Linked DNA regions of Homo sapiens: regions 1 and 2 are each linked to region 3. The links are contacts of gene promoters, found by promoter capture Hi-C in blood cells and fetal thymus (Javierre and others, 2016). All regions are on one chromosome and are shown on one strand. Each heading gives the region's core, a stretch centred on a gene start or on the middle of the fragment in contact. The rest is flanking DNA. Distances are from core to core; before and after follow the strand shown.

Region 1 (4,975 bases), core at 1,678-4,177, 66 kb before region 3:
CAGTGTCTCAAAGAATAAGTTTACCATTAACTTTTGTAAAGAGAAAAAAAAATGTATGTTTAGTTTGGACAACTGAATGCTCATCTGGGACACACAGTAATTATTTCCAAATACTTGAACACCTATCCTAGGTTAAAGGAATTGAAGTGGTCCTATATGGTCAATAGATCATTGCTAAGGGCAACTATACAGTATTTTTCTCAATACGAAGAAGAAATTTTCAGCAAATAGAATTCTCTGAAAATTGAACGAACTCACACAGGAGTGACTTGATTATTCCCAGCCTCATTCAAGCAGAAGCAGTGCATTAATATTTCTTCTAAAGCCCTTTGTACACACAGTAGTCCTACTGAAGGAATGAATGACATATTAGCTCTATTTATATGCTTCGTGAGTTTTAATTTTAAACATTGACTCTTGATATTGGGGTTTCTTCCCCATCTTTCCAGACTTCAGTTACACCCATCTCTGGGGATCATTTTATTTTTCTTTAAATATGATTTGCTTTTTATTTACAAAAATGCTTAGGGTATTTATCATGTTGTTTTCACCACTCAAATAGATGATTTTATTTTCATTTTTTGGGTAATAACTTACAGAGGTTAAATGACTTCTAGGAGGTTCAATATTAAATTTATTTAACTGCTGAAACCTTATCTACAAAACCAATAAATACACATACTGTGCTGAGAAATAAACGTATGTTTAATACTCTATGTACTCTTTATTAAATTGATTTATGTTTCCAAATTTCTGTATATCAATATTAATGTAGACATTCTAGGTGAGATAAACATAACATGTTAAAAACAGAAAAAAACAAGTCAGAAGCTTGTGATTCCATATTCTACTTTTTTTTTTTTTTTTTGAGACTGAGTTTCACTCTTGTAACCCAGGCTGCGGTGCAGTGGCACAATCTCGACTCATTGCAACCTCCGCCTCCCGGGTTCAAGAGATTCTACCTCCTCAGCTTCCCAAGTAGCTGGGATTACAGGCATATACCACCACGCCCGGCTAATTTTTTTTTGTATTTAGTAGAGACGGGGTTTCACCATGTTGGTCAGGCTGGTCTCGAACTCCTGACCTTAGGTCATACACCTGCCTTGGCCTCCCAAAGTGCTTGGATTACAGGCATGAGCCACCGCATCTGGCCCCTTCTTTGTATCTTTAATTTAGACTCTAAACTAAATGGCAGGAAAGCAGCATTTTGACAATGCTATGTATATTGCCCAGAATATGGATGAAATTTTAGTAAATGTGAAATAAAGCATAAGGAAAGCCATTACTTCCAGACAGAAATTTGTTTATTAACTAAGAACTAGGACATTTTCCAGAGTCAGAATGCAATAAATTGGCAAGGCAAGATGATAGGAGAATCCTAAACGCAGATTACACATAATTGTAAAGGGTCTCTAACAGTATTTGTTCTTCTTTCAACAAATAATTTTCATGCTTTAGCTAATTCTGAGGCTTTTTCTTAGGCATGGAGAACAAAAGCTGAGTACCAGTGAATCTTGTTTTATGGCTTCTCTGGAAGAGAAGATTTGCTGAAGTCTTCTATTTTTGAGCTCTAGTCACCATTGCTATTTGCCTGTTCTTACAATCAATCAGTAAGAAAAGGATGAAATAGTTCAACTTATTATGCTCAAGATAGTGTTTTCTATCGGCTTATTAGCAAGGTGCTAGTTAGGTAGTTGACAAAAATATTAATGACAATCAAAGCCATCCGAATGAATTTGCATGCTGGAATCTGCAGTCAAACCATGGAGGCCCCATTTCATCAGGAAAGGTAGGTGATAATCACACTGTCAGACAAGTGACAGTGACAGCCAAAGTAAGAAAGCCGGTGATGGTTGTATTTCAAATGGAGTCTCTTCGGTAAGTCCATTGTAATAAATCTCAGAAATAATGATGTTACCTTCAGGGTCAGCTTTTAGTACAAAGAGCAATAACAGAACAACAGAAAAAAGAAAACCTAGCAGGTGATACTGGCTGTGGTTAATAAACCTGGGAGTTGTATTTGAACTTAATGTAACAAGATTCTTAGGCTGAATAAAGAGATTCAGCAGAAAATTAGACGTTCTAGTACTTAGTAGAATCTTCCCCATTGGGCAATTTCCAGCTGCTATAAATTCTGGAAGTTGGTCAATAGCATTTCAGAGGTCTGCTACCACTGCACAAATACCTCAGAGGTGGAAAGGTACTGGGTATATAGCTCAGAGATCTGAAGCTTCTAGATAAATAGCTCAGTGGTCGGCAGCTCGTAGGCCTGTAGCTTGAATAGTGATAATTTCTCACTAAATAGCTTTGGGGTTGGCAGCTGTTGGAAATATAACATAATGGTGAGACGTAGCTGGGTATGAAGCAAGGATTTTGGTAGCTTTTATACCCCAAAGTACTCAATCTGCAGTGGTTTAGAGTTTGGAAACTCTTGGATAAGCAGTTAAGTTGTCCAAAGCAGTTGGAACCGTTGCGGAGGGTTTGGCAGGCTTTGGATGCATTTCGAGTGGGTATGTGGCAATTGCATACATACCCATTGGTCTGGGTGCTTGGGCTGCAGCTGGGGCTGGGGCTGACGTTGGTAGTTTCACAGACACTGAAGACTTGGCCTGCTGATGGGGAGTTGCAGGGCACAGAGGAGTTTGACGGGTCACAACCAGTGGTACTGCAGGTCTTGGGCTCACAGCTGGGAGATTTGCAGGTTGGTGCTTCACCGTAGGATTCTTGGCAGTAATCCAGGAGCCAGAGATTTCCTTGGTAGCTACTGGGTAAGCAGTGTCCAAAGGTAGGGCTTAAATCACTGGAGCTAAGAGTAACAGAAGAGGTCACTGGGATATAACAGTGAGTTCTGTATGATGTGGTACTGCAGACCCCAGGATAGCCTGTAGTAGACATGGAGCCTGCAGGCATGCTCAGTGGTCGCTGTGCAGTGTGTCTGTGGCCTAAGGACGTTTTATACCTTCCCTGGTGATTGTCAAAAGCCTCTCCAGACTCTTTCTTCTGTCTGCTTGGGGCAATAACACAGCAACATCTCATTAGTGTGTTGGTTAGCCACAGAGGCTAATGTTTTCACACGTGTAAAAATAAGTTTATTTTAATTCTTCAAAGTATCCATAATCACCACTTTGACCATCACCCATCACTCATCATCTGTAGACCATACCTTCAGCAAATAGTGATTTTCATGTTAATAGGCAAACTCTCATCTGTCAATCAGAGGTTAACAAGAGTTCATGGGTCTATGGGCTTCTGCAACATGGTTATTTAAAGGTTCACAAGGACTCAAGTAAAGCAAGTAACCTGTATTTTTCCACGCTGTTAACTACTGGAAAACACTGAAGGACTTAATCATATACTCTGAAATAAGTCAAGTAGTTTGTCTGTCTCAACATGGTTACTCAAAAGCAGGCATTGACCTTTCAAGAATCAGTTTTCCAAATATGTGCTATACTCTTACCTGTGCAGGGCCATATACTGGTAACGGCTTCTCATGTAATGTATTAGGAGAAGTTCATAGGTAAGACTCACAGCAATACTTGGGAAACTTGGTGACCAACACCTGGCTAAAAATGAACTTGTTCCCAGGGGGCATTTGTTGCTAAGCAACCAAGACTTCTGTTAAATCCCTTCTTAAAGAGTGTCGGCAATATGCACTATCAAATAAACCCAGCTTTGCAAGATGATACCTTCCTAATTGACTAAGATTACATATCACATGTTCCATTGCCTGCTGTAAACCCCAATTGCTGTCAGATGTAAATATTTTCCCCGTTTTTCCCCAAATAAGTTCTCTTATTCTTTATTTGCTTTCTTTTGCACCTACACTTTATTTTACTCCTGTGTTGAAAAATGCAGTTATTTTTAGTTTATGTCAATGAAAGGAAATAACTCTTTAAAAGTTTTATCTGAATAAACTGTATAGTTCTTACAAGCACTGTATATATGAAATAGCACTTTTTACTACTCAGGGTGAAGGCTAAAGAATTTTTTTAAAGATTTTAATTTATACTGAAGAACTGAAATTTTGTTCTTCAAATATAAAATTATAATTTATAATTCCAGCCTCTATTGAATTGGAAACAGCAATGCATTTATTAACTGTGAAGAGTTCAGACAGAGAATAGAACAGTCTTCTTCAGGTATAATCAGCTATAGGGATAGTTTTTTAAATTAACTCTCTTTATAGCAAACTATGAGATTTCTCTCACTGTTTTCGGTTACTTTTCAGTCAGATTTTTCAAATGCACAGCAATTTAAACCTACAGATATTCTCTTTTTTTTAAAAAAGATCTCCATTTTCTCAGTGCTTTTCTCAGTATTTGTTCTGTAAGTTGACAATAAGCAATTCTGTATTAAACATGTTTTGCTGCCTTCTGCAGTATCTCTCAGGTGACAAAGGCCACAATCATGAAACTGTATTTCCAGTAAATTGTTTGGCTATAGAGAGCCTTGGGATTTTGTGCGGAAAATGTTAGTCCTGAGGCAGGCAAAATAGGAAAGAAGATACATGGGCAGTTAGTTGACGGCCAACTTTCCGCTAAGTTACTGAGCCCCAGTGATACACAGAAAAGCCACAGGTTGATGAAGCTTTATTTCTACAGTTCTCTATTGTATCATTGTTGCCTCTAGTCTTTTTTTCTTAGGCATCCTTGAAGCAGGTTTGAGGGCTAACACCATTAACAAACACAGAATGAGTTAAGTCAGTTACTGTAAAGCTCACATTCTTCCCTTCCATCTTAAAATTAAATAGTGAGGTATTTTGAATTAATTTGATTCACACAGGTGTAAGTCTAAAAAATAATGTGGAACATCATATGGCATGACCAATATTCAAAGCATGAGCCATTAGAACATATTTAAATTGATTTTGCTATGATAATATTCTAAACAAATAAACAATGAGATTTGAGAAAGGAACCCTAGCTCATTTCCTCTCATTTGCTTTTGTGTTTCCTCTCCTTCCTTACTCAGAACA
Region 2 (4,342 bases), core at 1,089-3,588, 92 kb after region 3:
TAAATTATTTTCAGGTGTTTCTGACAGGTATTACAACACTTCTAAAATAATGGTCATATTTTCTCTTGTTCTGTGACTTGTATTTCACCTTGATGTAATGGTGTAATGAGACTGATATCTTGAGGAAGAGGAGAGATTGAGATTTATCTTGCTGTGGTTTCTGTGTTGTTTGATTTGCTCATTTTTAGAAAAAAGTTTCCATTCCACTTCTGAATGAAAGTAGTTGAATGCAAAAAAATCCATACTTTGAGAAAAGAATGTGCGACATTACTTAATATCTGATCCCTCAGAGTATTCTTCTACTGAAATTGCTTATATAGGAATGGATGACATTAAAACAAGAAAGCAACTTCAATTTAGGCGGGCTAAATATTTGTGTGGCTATTTTGATATTCAATATTTTATTGACAAACACAACAGGAAGATTTGGAATCTACTAGAATGCTTTTTGGCTATTAATAATTGAGAAGCCTAATAAATAAGAATTGTTTATTCCAGAAACACAGAACAAACTATGTTACTTAATAAATGAAACATGATTGGAGATCAATTTGTCTCCTCAAAAGTTTAGACTTATAAAGTCTACAATTTGGAAGGAAGTTGAGCAATTATCTCCAGCCTCCTGTCAGATTGGAATTCCACTTACAACATCCTAATTAGATTTTCCCAGGGCCCTCAGTATGGAAATATCATTAATTGCAAGAGCAACTCATTTTAGATTTTTAGCTGAATCTTCCCCTAAAACTTTTACCTAGTAATCCTGATTCTTCATAGAAGGGAGTCTCAGTTCACTTCCATTGTAGAATACATCAGTTCTGAAGATGGATGTCTTAAGAGGTTTGCCCATTCCCACAGGTTAAGGCATTTCCTGCATCCGTGCCATATATCTATTTACAGTTTGCTCTGATGAACTTTCTGAGCGAATCCAGAAAAATCCTCATTACTCTAGTACTCTAGGCAGAATATATATGTCAGCTGATACATCAGAGGTCACAAAGGCATTCACTCTCAATTACACATTATCATCATGTATCCTTCCCACCCCTTTATTTCAATTTATAAAGTCATTTGTTACTATGAATTCTTTACATATTTTATCTTTCTGTGAATACTACATGGGATAGACATTTCCCTCATTTCTTGCTTTTCTTTTCCCTCTCTGGTAAAAATGTCACCCTCTGAGAGAAAAGAAAGGAAAAGATTAACGATTTACATTTTACTTATAGTGCTTATTATTTTCCTCTCAGTAACATCAACATGACCAAAAATTACTTATACCTTATGGGGATAAACGGTTTTTTATAATCAAACTTATTGATGACTTCTATGAAGAAGCAAATCAACCTTTGAGTAAGGGATTTCTTTAGTAGTTTTACAATGTAAACTTCAAAGCACTTGTTCAAAAATTTCACCCTTCATTCTTAACTCTTCATGTGCACAAGAGTGACTTAGCTACTTGTGTTATAAGAAATCTAAACTTAAATATGTTAGGCACTCATTTAGCATGTCTACCAAATAAGGATTGTTATTGGGTTATTTCTTCTAATGGTTCAAAGAATTGAAAGAAGGAATAGATATTGAAATTTTTTTTCTGTTCTCAATTGAATTTATAAAATTGGAGCAAGATCAAAGTCCCTTCCAGATTACAAGGTATTTTTCAGATCTTTACAAATACCAGAACTCTCAGTGTCTTAGCCGTTTGATCCAATTTCTAGAAGGACAGGATGAATGAAGCATCAAGTTTTTTTCTTTGTTTTTTTGTTTCTTTGTTTGTTTGTTTGTTTTGGAGATGGAATCTTGCTCTGTCTCCCAGGCTGGAGTGCAGTGGTACGATCTCGGCTCACTGCAAACTCCGCCTCCCGGGTTCAAGCAATTCTCCTGCCTCAGCCTCCTGAGTAGCTGGGATTACAGCCGCCCACCACCATGCCCGGCTAATTTTTGTATTTTTAGTAGAGACGGAGTTTCACCATGTTGGTCAGGCTGGTCTGGAACTCCTGACCTCGTGATATGCCTGCCTCAGCCTCCCAAAGTGCTGGAATTACAAGTGTGAGCCTCCGCGCCCGACCCTTTGAAGCATCAGTCTTATAGGTACAATTATGGTGGTTTTCATTCTACCTAAGCAAGATGAATGAGAAATGGCATTTTTGTTTCATGAACAATTGCTTTGAAAAACTAATGAAATTCTTTCATGTAGAAGTCTACGTTCATAAATAAAATTCTTTGAGTGTTAATATATTTCATTTTGACTGCAGCCTAATTAAGTGTTCTCATTAGAATGGGCACTTGTGACTACACCTATTGCTAGAGTATGTCAGTGTCCAGTATAGAAGGTAACATTCACACACACACGCTCCTCACTGCAAATCACCTGAGCTCAGAACTCCTGTTAACATGTCTTACAACTGCAGCTCTGGAAACTTCTCCTCCTGCTGTTTTGGAAGTTACCTGAGGTATCCAGTTTCCACTTATAATTTGTTCTACCCCAGCAATGCCATCTATTCTCCAAATACCTGCCAACTGGGCTCCTCTCTCTACAATGGCTGTCAGGAGACCTACTGTGAGCCCACCAGCTGCCAGACATCCTGCACTTTGGCCAGATCCTATCAGACATCCTGTTACTGCCCAAAGAATTCCATCTTCTGCAGTCCCCGCCAGACTAACTACATAAGATCCCTTGGATGTGGAAACACTGGCCTTGGATCTCTTGGTTGTGGAAGCACTGGCTTCCAATCTCTGGACTGTGGGTCCAGCTTCTACCACCCAACTACCTTTTCATCCAGGAATTTCCAGGCAACTTGTTACTAACCAGCCTTTGGGTCTCGCCTTTTTGGATCATCTTACTGAATATTCTCCATTCTCTCATGATTATTTCTGTACTCTATGGAACTGCAACACTCAGCCTGTCCAATATCTGTGATTGTTGACCATCTACATCAGTAGGACTCAGCATCCTAGCCCTCTTGGAAGTATATGATTGAACACGGACAAATTAATCTTGACCTAGGACCCTTCCTAAATCTGACAGGAGATATATCTTGAATTTCAATTTTTGTGCCAATGCTCAGGATCATTTCTGTTATCATCTTTCTAAAATCCTTCTCTCATTATTTTCCCAGAACTCTTCCACTCAAATATATTTCAAATAGTTACAATATTTTAAATAAGCTTATTTCTTTGGCATGAATTCTGGCATTCCATTTTATTTTGTTAATACAATACACTTAGGCTGGGCATGATGGCTCACACCTGTAATCCCAGCACTTTGGGAGACTGAGGCTGGCGGATCACTTTAGGTCAAGAGTTTGAGGCCATCCTGGCCAACACAGTGAAAACCCATTTCTACTAAAAATACAAAAATTAGCAAGGCCTGGTGTGCACCTATAATCCCAGCTACTCAGGAGGCTGAGGCAGGCGAATCACTTGAATCTGAGAGACGGAGGTTGTAGTCAGCTGAGATCATGCCACTACACTCCAGCCTGGGCAACAAAGTGGGACTCTGTGTCAAAAAATAAATAAATAAATAAGTAAAAATGATACATTTAGTGAATTCATCCCATATCTTCAACTGTCTTCCTTAGGTACACTTTTTGTTTGTTTCATATGTTTTATTGATATTTTGTTGAATAGAAAACAAAGTGCAAAGAAAATTTAAATATATAACCTATCACATGTTTTAAGAGATTTAAATCCCCTCATAAGTGCATTTTTTATATATTTGCTTCAGAAAATTTTGTTTTAGTCTTTCATTGAAAAAAAATTTATTGAGGTCCTATTATATACCAAGCATTACGCTGAACAAAGACACAAATTCTCTGCTTCAGGAAGTTCCCACAAATACAATTATAACTTATATGGCAAATGGAATAATGGGGTGAAGACAAGATTCAGTGGGAACACAAAGAAGAACTTCAAAAACACTCAGAGAAAATAATATAAACCCATTATTGAAAATAGAGTAAATAAGTTACACTTAATTTTAGAATAACAAATCTTACTGATCTATTGTGTCCATTGCAGTCCCTTGAAAAGCAGCTGCCAAATGGGATTAAACATAAAAAAGATTTATTGGTGAAAATGCCAGTGATAGATAATGGGGAGGTAGTTGGAGAGGTCTGGGAGAGCCATACTACTGTGGAGTATGTCTAGCCTCAGTGAAGGACAGAGGGAACTAAGTTTGGTCTAGAAGAAACTTCTTTAAGAAACTCCCCATCGGGCGTGGTGGCTCATGCCTGTGATCCCAGCGCTTTGGGAGGCCGAGGCGGGTGGATCGCGAGGTCAGGAGATCGAGACCACCCTGGCTAACACGGTGAAACCCCGTCTCTACTAAAAATACAAAAAATTA
Region 3 (4,986 bases), core at 2,315-4,814:
AATTAAAAGTGCTAACCTATACTAACGAAAAAAATGATACTCTATATGAACACACAAATGATAAGAAAGCAAAACAAGCTCCTTGCTGATATGGAGAAAGTTTTAGCAGCCTGGATAGAAGATCAAACCAGCCACAACATTCCCTTAAGCCAAAACCTAATCCAGGGGGAGGCGCTAACTCTCTTCAATTGTATGAATACTGAGAGAGGTAAGGAAGCTTTAGAAGAAAAGTCAGAAGCTAGCAGAGGCTGATTCATGAGGTTTAAGGAAGGAAGCCATCTCTATAACATAAAAGTGCAAGGTAAAGCAGTAAGTGCTGATGGAGAAACTGCTGCAAGTTATCCAGAAGATCTAGCCAAGATCATTGAAGAAGGTGGCTACACAAAACAGCAGAATTTCAATGTAGATAAAAGAGCATTCTGTTGGAAGATAACATCATCTAGGACTTTCATAGTTAGAGAGAAGTCAATGCCTGGCTCCAAAGTTTCAAAGGACAGGCTGACTCTTTTTTATGGGCTAATGCAGCTGGTGACAAGTTGAAGCCAATGCTCATTTACCATTCTGAAAATCACAAGGCCCTTAAGTATTATTGTAAATCTATTCCACTTGTGCTCTGTAAAAGGAACAACAAAGCCTGGATGACAGCACATCTGTTTACAGCATGGTTTACTGAATATTTGAAGCCCATGGTTGAGACCTACTACTAAAGAAAGATTCCTTTCAAAATATTAGTGCTCGTTGACTATGCACCTAGTCACCCAAGAGCTTTGAAAGGGGCTGGAGGGAAGGCAGAAATGGGCTGCAAATGGGCTTTGCAATTATATTAAGGGGTCTTCATTGGGAAGGAGGATTGTTGAAGGTTTTAAATGAGTGTCTCATTTAAAAACATGTTATCTACGAGTAACAGAAATTGTAATTCAAAATGGCTTAAGCGATAAGAAATTTTATTGGCTTACATAAACCAGTGTCCAGAAGTGAGATGGTCCAGGTTCTGTCCTCCTGCATTTCTCTTGGTTCTGGCCTCTTTCATTTGATGGTTTAATTTTCAGGTTAGATCGGGTATGGTGGCTCACACCTGTAATCCCAGCACTTTGGGAGGCTGAGGCAGGCAGAACACTTGAGGTCAGGAGTTCGTCAACAGCCTGGCCAACATGGCAAAACCCCATCTCTACAAAAAATACAAAAACTAGCTGGGCGTGGTGGCATGCACCTGTAATCCCAGCTACTCAGGAGGCTGAGGCAGGAGAGAATCGTTGGAGGCAGGAGAGAATCACTTGGAACCAGGAGGAAGAGGTTATAGTGAGCTGAGATTGTGCCACTGCACTCCAGCCTGGGCAACAGAGGGAGACCCTGTCTCAAGAAAAAAAAAAAAAATTCAGGCCATATGCAAAACGGATGCAGCATTCCACATATAACAAAGTCCAGAGGTAGAGAGAATCGTTTTAAGAAATCCCAGAGACACTTTGGGAGGCCGAGGTGGGCAGATTGCGAGGTCAGGAGATCGAGACCATCCTGGCTAACACGGTGAAACCCCGTCTCTACTAAAAATACAAAAAATGAGCCAGGCATGGTGGCAGGCGCCTGTAGTCCCAGCTACTCGTGAGGCTGAGGCAGGAGAATGGCGTGAACCCAGAAGGCGGGGCTTGCAGTGAGCCGAGATTGCGCCACTGCACTCTAGTCTGGGTGACAGAGCAAGACTCCATCTCAGAAAAAAAAAAAAAAAAAGAAAGAAACCCCAGAGAAGGAACTTTACCAGAAGCATTGTTCCACATGGCTCCTTGTTTCTCATTGGCTTACCTCAGATCACATGCTCATTCCTGAGCCAATCACTTTCAGTAGGCATTGGGGCGCTCTAGAGTAGCCAAATTCAATCCTTAAGCCTAAGGCATAATCACGTTCATTTGCAGGACTATGTGTGGACGAGGAGGGATGCACAAACAAAATCCAATTTCCATAGAAAGAAGAGCGAGAAGGAAAACAGCTGTGAGAGCAGTGAACGATGAGCTACCCACCTCCATTTAGATATTTGAAAATGTATATGACTGTGTTCCACTTAATGTAAGAATATAATGGACTGTCTAGTTTTGCATCCAGATACAAGCCCAGGATATCAAGAGGTAAAGTCTTATCTCTCAGTCCGTGTCACCTATGCATGATACTGCCAGGTTTCAGACAGTTTTCAGGTGACTTCTATTATAACACCGGATGGCTTTATAGTGACCTAATGAAAGGAGGAGGGAGTGAACCATCAAATTAAAAAAAAAAAAACTCTTAGATATTATATTCTTCTTATTATAGTGGAATGCATACATCTTTAATTTCATGTATACCTAAACTATTTGTTTCATTACACTTGCTACTGAACTCAGTTAAAATCCTGACCTCAGAATTTCATTGTGGCTTATATATGTCTGGGAAGGAAGATTACAGGAAGGATTTTGATAATGTTCTCATAAAAACAGCCAGGCTAGTACTTGCTAAAACATCACTGCTGTCTCTGGATATTTTCTTCCTAGACTAGACCCATGAGTAGCTTAACCAAAGTGAAGTGTCCTGATTAGGCCTAAATGGCCATGAATAGAAAAACAGAGATAATCTCCTGTCCTATCTCTGAGTCTACTTGGCAGAAATTCCCAGGAACTAGATCTCTGTTGTTAGAAAACTCTGCCTATCAAGGAACCTACTCCTTTCCCTCAAAGTGAATATTTTATTTTTAGACAAAAAGTGGGGGTTTCAAATTCCCGACAGACATCTTATAAAGAAAATTAACACAAGATTTGTGATCTGATATCAGATTAAATGAGTTTATTTGAAGAAAAAGAAATCAACTCTTGCTCCATTTTTAACTAGAGAAGGAAGGGAAAATACAAGAAAACAGAAGAAAAAGAGATGAGTATTCTATGAGAAATGTTATTTTAATATTAATAAGTTTAAAACAATTATCTTTTCTGGATAGTAGAATATAGGTTCTAGCCAGATGATAGCTGAGATGGACTTTGAGAGAAATAATTGTAATGTGGAGGTTTGGAGCCCTTAGCAAGTTGATCGGTAGAAGCCAGATCCACAAGTTGGTCTGTAACAGGAAGACTGGAATGTCCTAAAGAGAACATATGTTGGGTGGCAGAATCCAGATCCATAGCCCAGGGAAGGGAAGCCACAGCCTCCATAACCCAGGGATCTGACGCCACTGGACCCACGGCCCACTGAGTAGCAGCTCCTAGATCCATAGCCCAGGGAGCGGCAGCTGCTGGATCCAAAGCCTAGAGACTCAGAGTAAGTCGACTGGCAGGGACTGCAGAGCACGGAGCTTCTGGGGCGGTAGCAGGAGGTCTGGCAGGGGCTGGACTCCACACAGGACATCTGGCAGCTAGGGGTTTCCCAGCAAGTCTCCTGAAAGCCCTTGCAGAGAGAGGAACCCAGCTGGCAGGTGCTGGGAGATCAAAGGTTCAGTGCTGTAGACCAGGTTGCTGGGGTACGAGGAGCCACCACGGGAGTAGCCTGAGTAGCACAGGTAGCCCTCACAGGAATGGGAGGAGAAGTTTCCACAGCAGCAGTTGTAGGACATGTTGACAGGAGATGTGAGTTCAGCTGAGCTGCATTGAGAAGATGCCCTGATGTCCCTGCCTGTGCCCAATGATCCAGTGATGTTTACACCCTCACACTGCTGGGCGTGATGCAGTATCCGGGAACCCCCCCATTCTTGTGAATGTGTTTTCATCAAATGACTAAGTAACCTAGGTTATAATTATAACTCAACACATTCATTTGTCTTTAACAGCAGTGTAATCATTCCAGTTTATAGAAGCCCATTGGCTTCTCTCTCTCTCTCTCTCTGTCTCTTTCTCTCTCTCTCTCTCTCTCTCTCTCTCTGCAGAAATAAGGTTTGGTTTGCTTTCAGAAACATTGGTGATGATACATACAGTGCCTCCCCACCCCTTTTACTGAGCTTGACTGTGGGTATTCTGAGCTTCAGCCTACAAATTCTTACCAGCAATGTACTCCCAACAGTAATCAGCAGCCACCCACCCCCCATTATTTACATATGTTTTATTAAGCATTAACTACATGCGCAACATTTAAAAGTGTGGTATGATTTAATCTTTGCAAATATCTTATGAGATACAAGTTGTCATAAACAATTTAGAAGTAAGGCCATGGAGGTTTGGAAAAGTTATGTAACATTCAGGTAATAAATCAAACAAATCATGGACCCCATGTCATCCCAGGTGTGTCTGTCTTTAAGGCTAGCACAAACCACAGAGCTATATAGACAATTTGTGAAGCTTGTAATTTCTGCTCCCAGAATCACATGGACAATTGAGTATGCAGGTGAAAAAAAAATTCCAAGGTGTTAATATTTGCATTTCATCTGATATATCTACTTGAGTATTCTTACCCCTTTTATGAATTCCCCAAATATAGCCAACTGAGGGGACAGCTTCTTAATTGATTTTGGTTATTTTTTTAGTATTCAGAGTTACTATGGAGATGCTTTGTTACAAATTATCTTCTATTTGCCCTCTCACTCAGTTTATCCTAGTTAAGCAACTCATGTTTTATCCACCATGGAGTTATTAGATTCTTTTTCAGTGTGAGGCAGAAAATTCTTTGGCAAACACAGACTTTCACTGGGACTAGTTGCGAAAAACTGATATGCCTTTAGTGAGTTGACTACCAATAAAATACATTTGCAGAAGCTTGAATTTTAATAGGGTGCCGACCTTTTGCCAACTCAGTTGGGAGTGAGAAATACGACACCTTCCAGAGTGATTCATTTCACTCCTTGCTGAGCTTCTCTTGTTCATCCTTCTAGGAAGACAAAGCAGCATAAAATTTACCATTATATTAAGTGGTTAAAATTATCTTTACCACTATAAAACATCAGTGGTATAAAGAAAAATCTTGGAATTAGAAATGTCTTTTTCCCCACTTGTTATCATATCCAACTTCTGCCTTCAAGCATCTTTTAGAAATTGGAAAGCAAAA

What was found. The method cuts DNA at HindIII sites, captures the fragments that hold promoters and counts their contacts. A CHiCAGO score of 5 or more calls a contact.
Region 1: a contact is called between the fragment with the promoter of KRTAP24-1 here and the fragment with the promoter of KRTAP23-1 in region 3, in 2 of 17 cell types (neutrophils and naive B cells). The highest score is 7.4, in neutrophils.
Region 2: the fragment with the promoter of KRTAP15-1 here is called in contact with the fragment with the promoter of KRTAP23-1 in region 3 in 3 of 17 cell types (neutrophils, total B cells and naive B cells); the score reaches 7.1 in neutrophils.

What each region holds. Positions count from the first base shown.
Region 1 is chr21:30,280,023-30,284,997 of GRCh38, forward strand. It overlaps KRTAP24-1 (keratin associated protein 24-1), which reads right to left and starts at 2,928. Exons shown (of 1, transcript NM_001085455.3): 1 at 1,287-2,928. The coding sequence starts at 2,910. The coding sequence ends at 2,146. The HindIII fragment of the contact is 2,357 bases long and covers 2,229-4,585 here.
Region 2 is chr21:30,437,937-30,442,278 of GRCh38, forward strand. KRTAP15-1 (keratin associated protein 15-1) reads left to right here and starts at 2,339. Exons shown (of 1, transcript NM_181623.3): 1 at 2,339-2,933. The coding sequence starts at 2,392. The coding sequence ends at 2,805. The region is part of intron 3 of LOC105372772 (a long non-coding RNA gene); the gene reads right to left. The HindIII fragment of the contact is 9,658 bases long and covers 1-3,163 here.
Region 3 is chr21:30,345,042-30,350,027 of GRCh38, forward strand. KRTAP23-1 (keratin associated protein 23-1) reads right to left here and starts at 3,565. Exons shown (of 1, transcript NM_181624.1): 1 at 3,358-3,565. The coding sequence starts at 3,565. The coding sequence ends at 3,368. The HindIII fragment of the contact is 4,066 bases long and covers 216-4,281 here.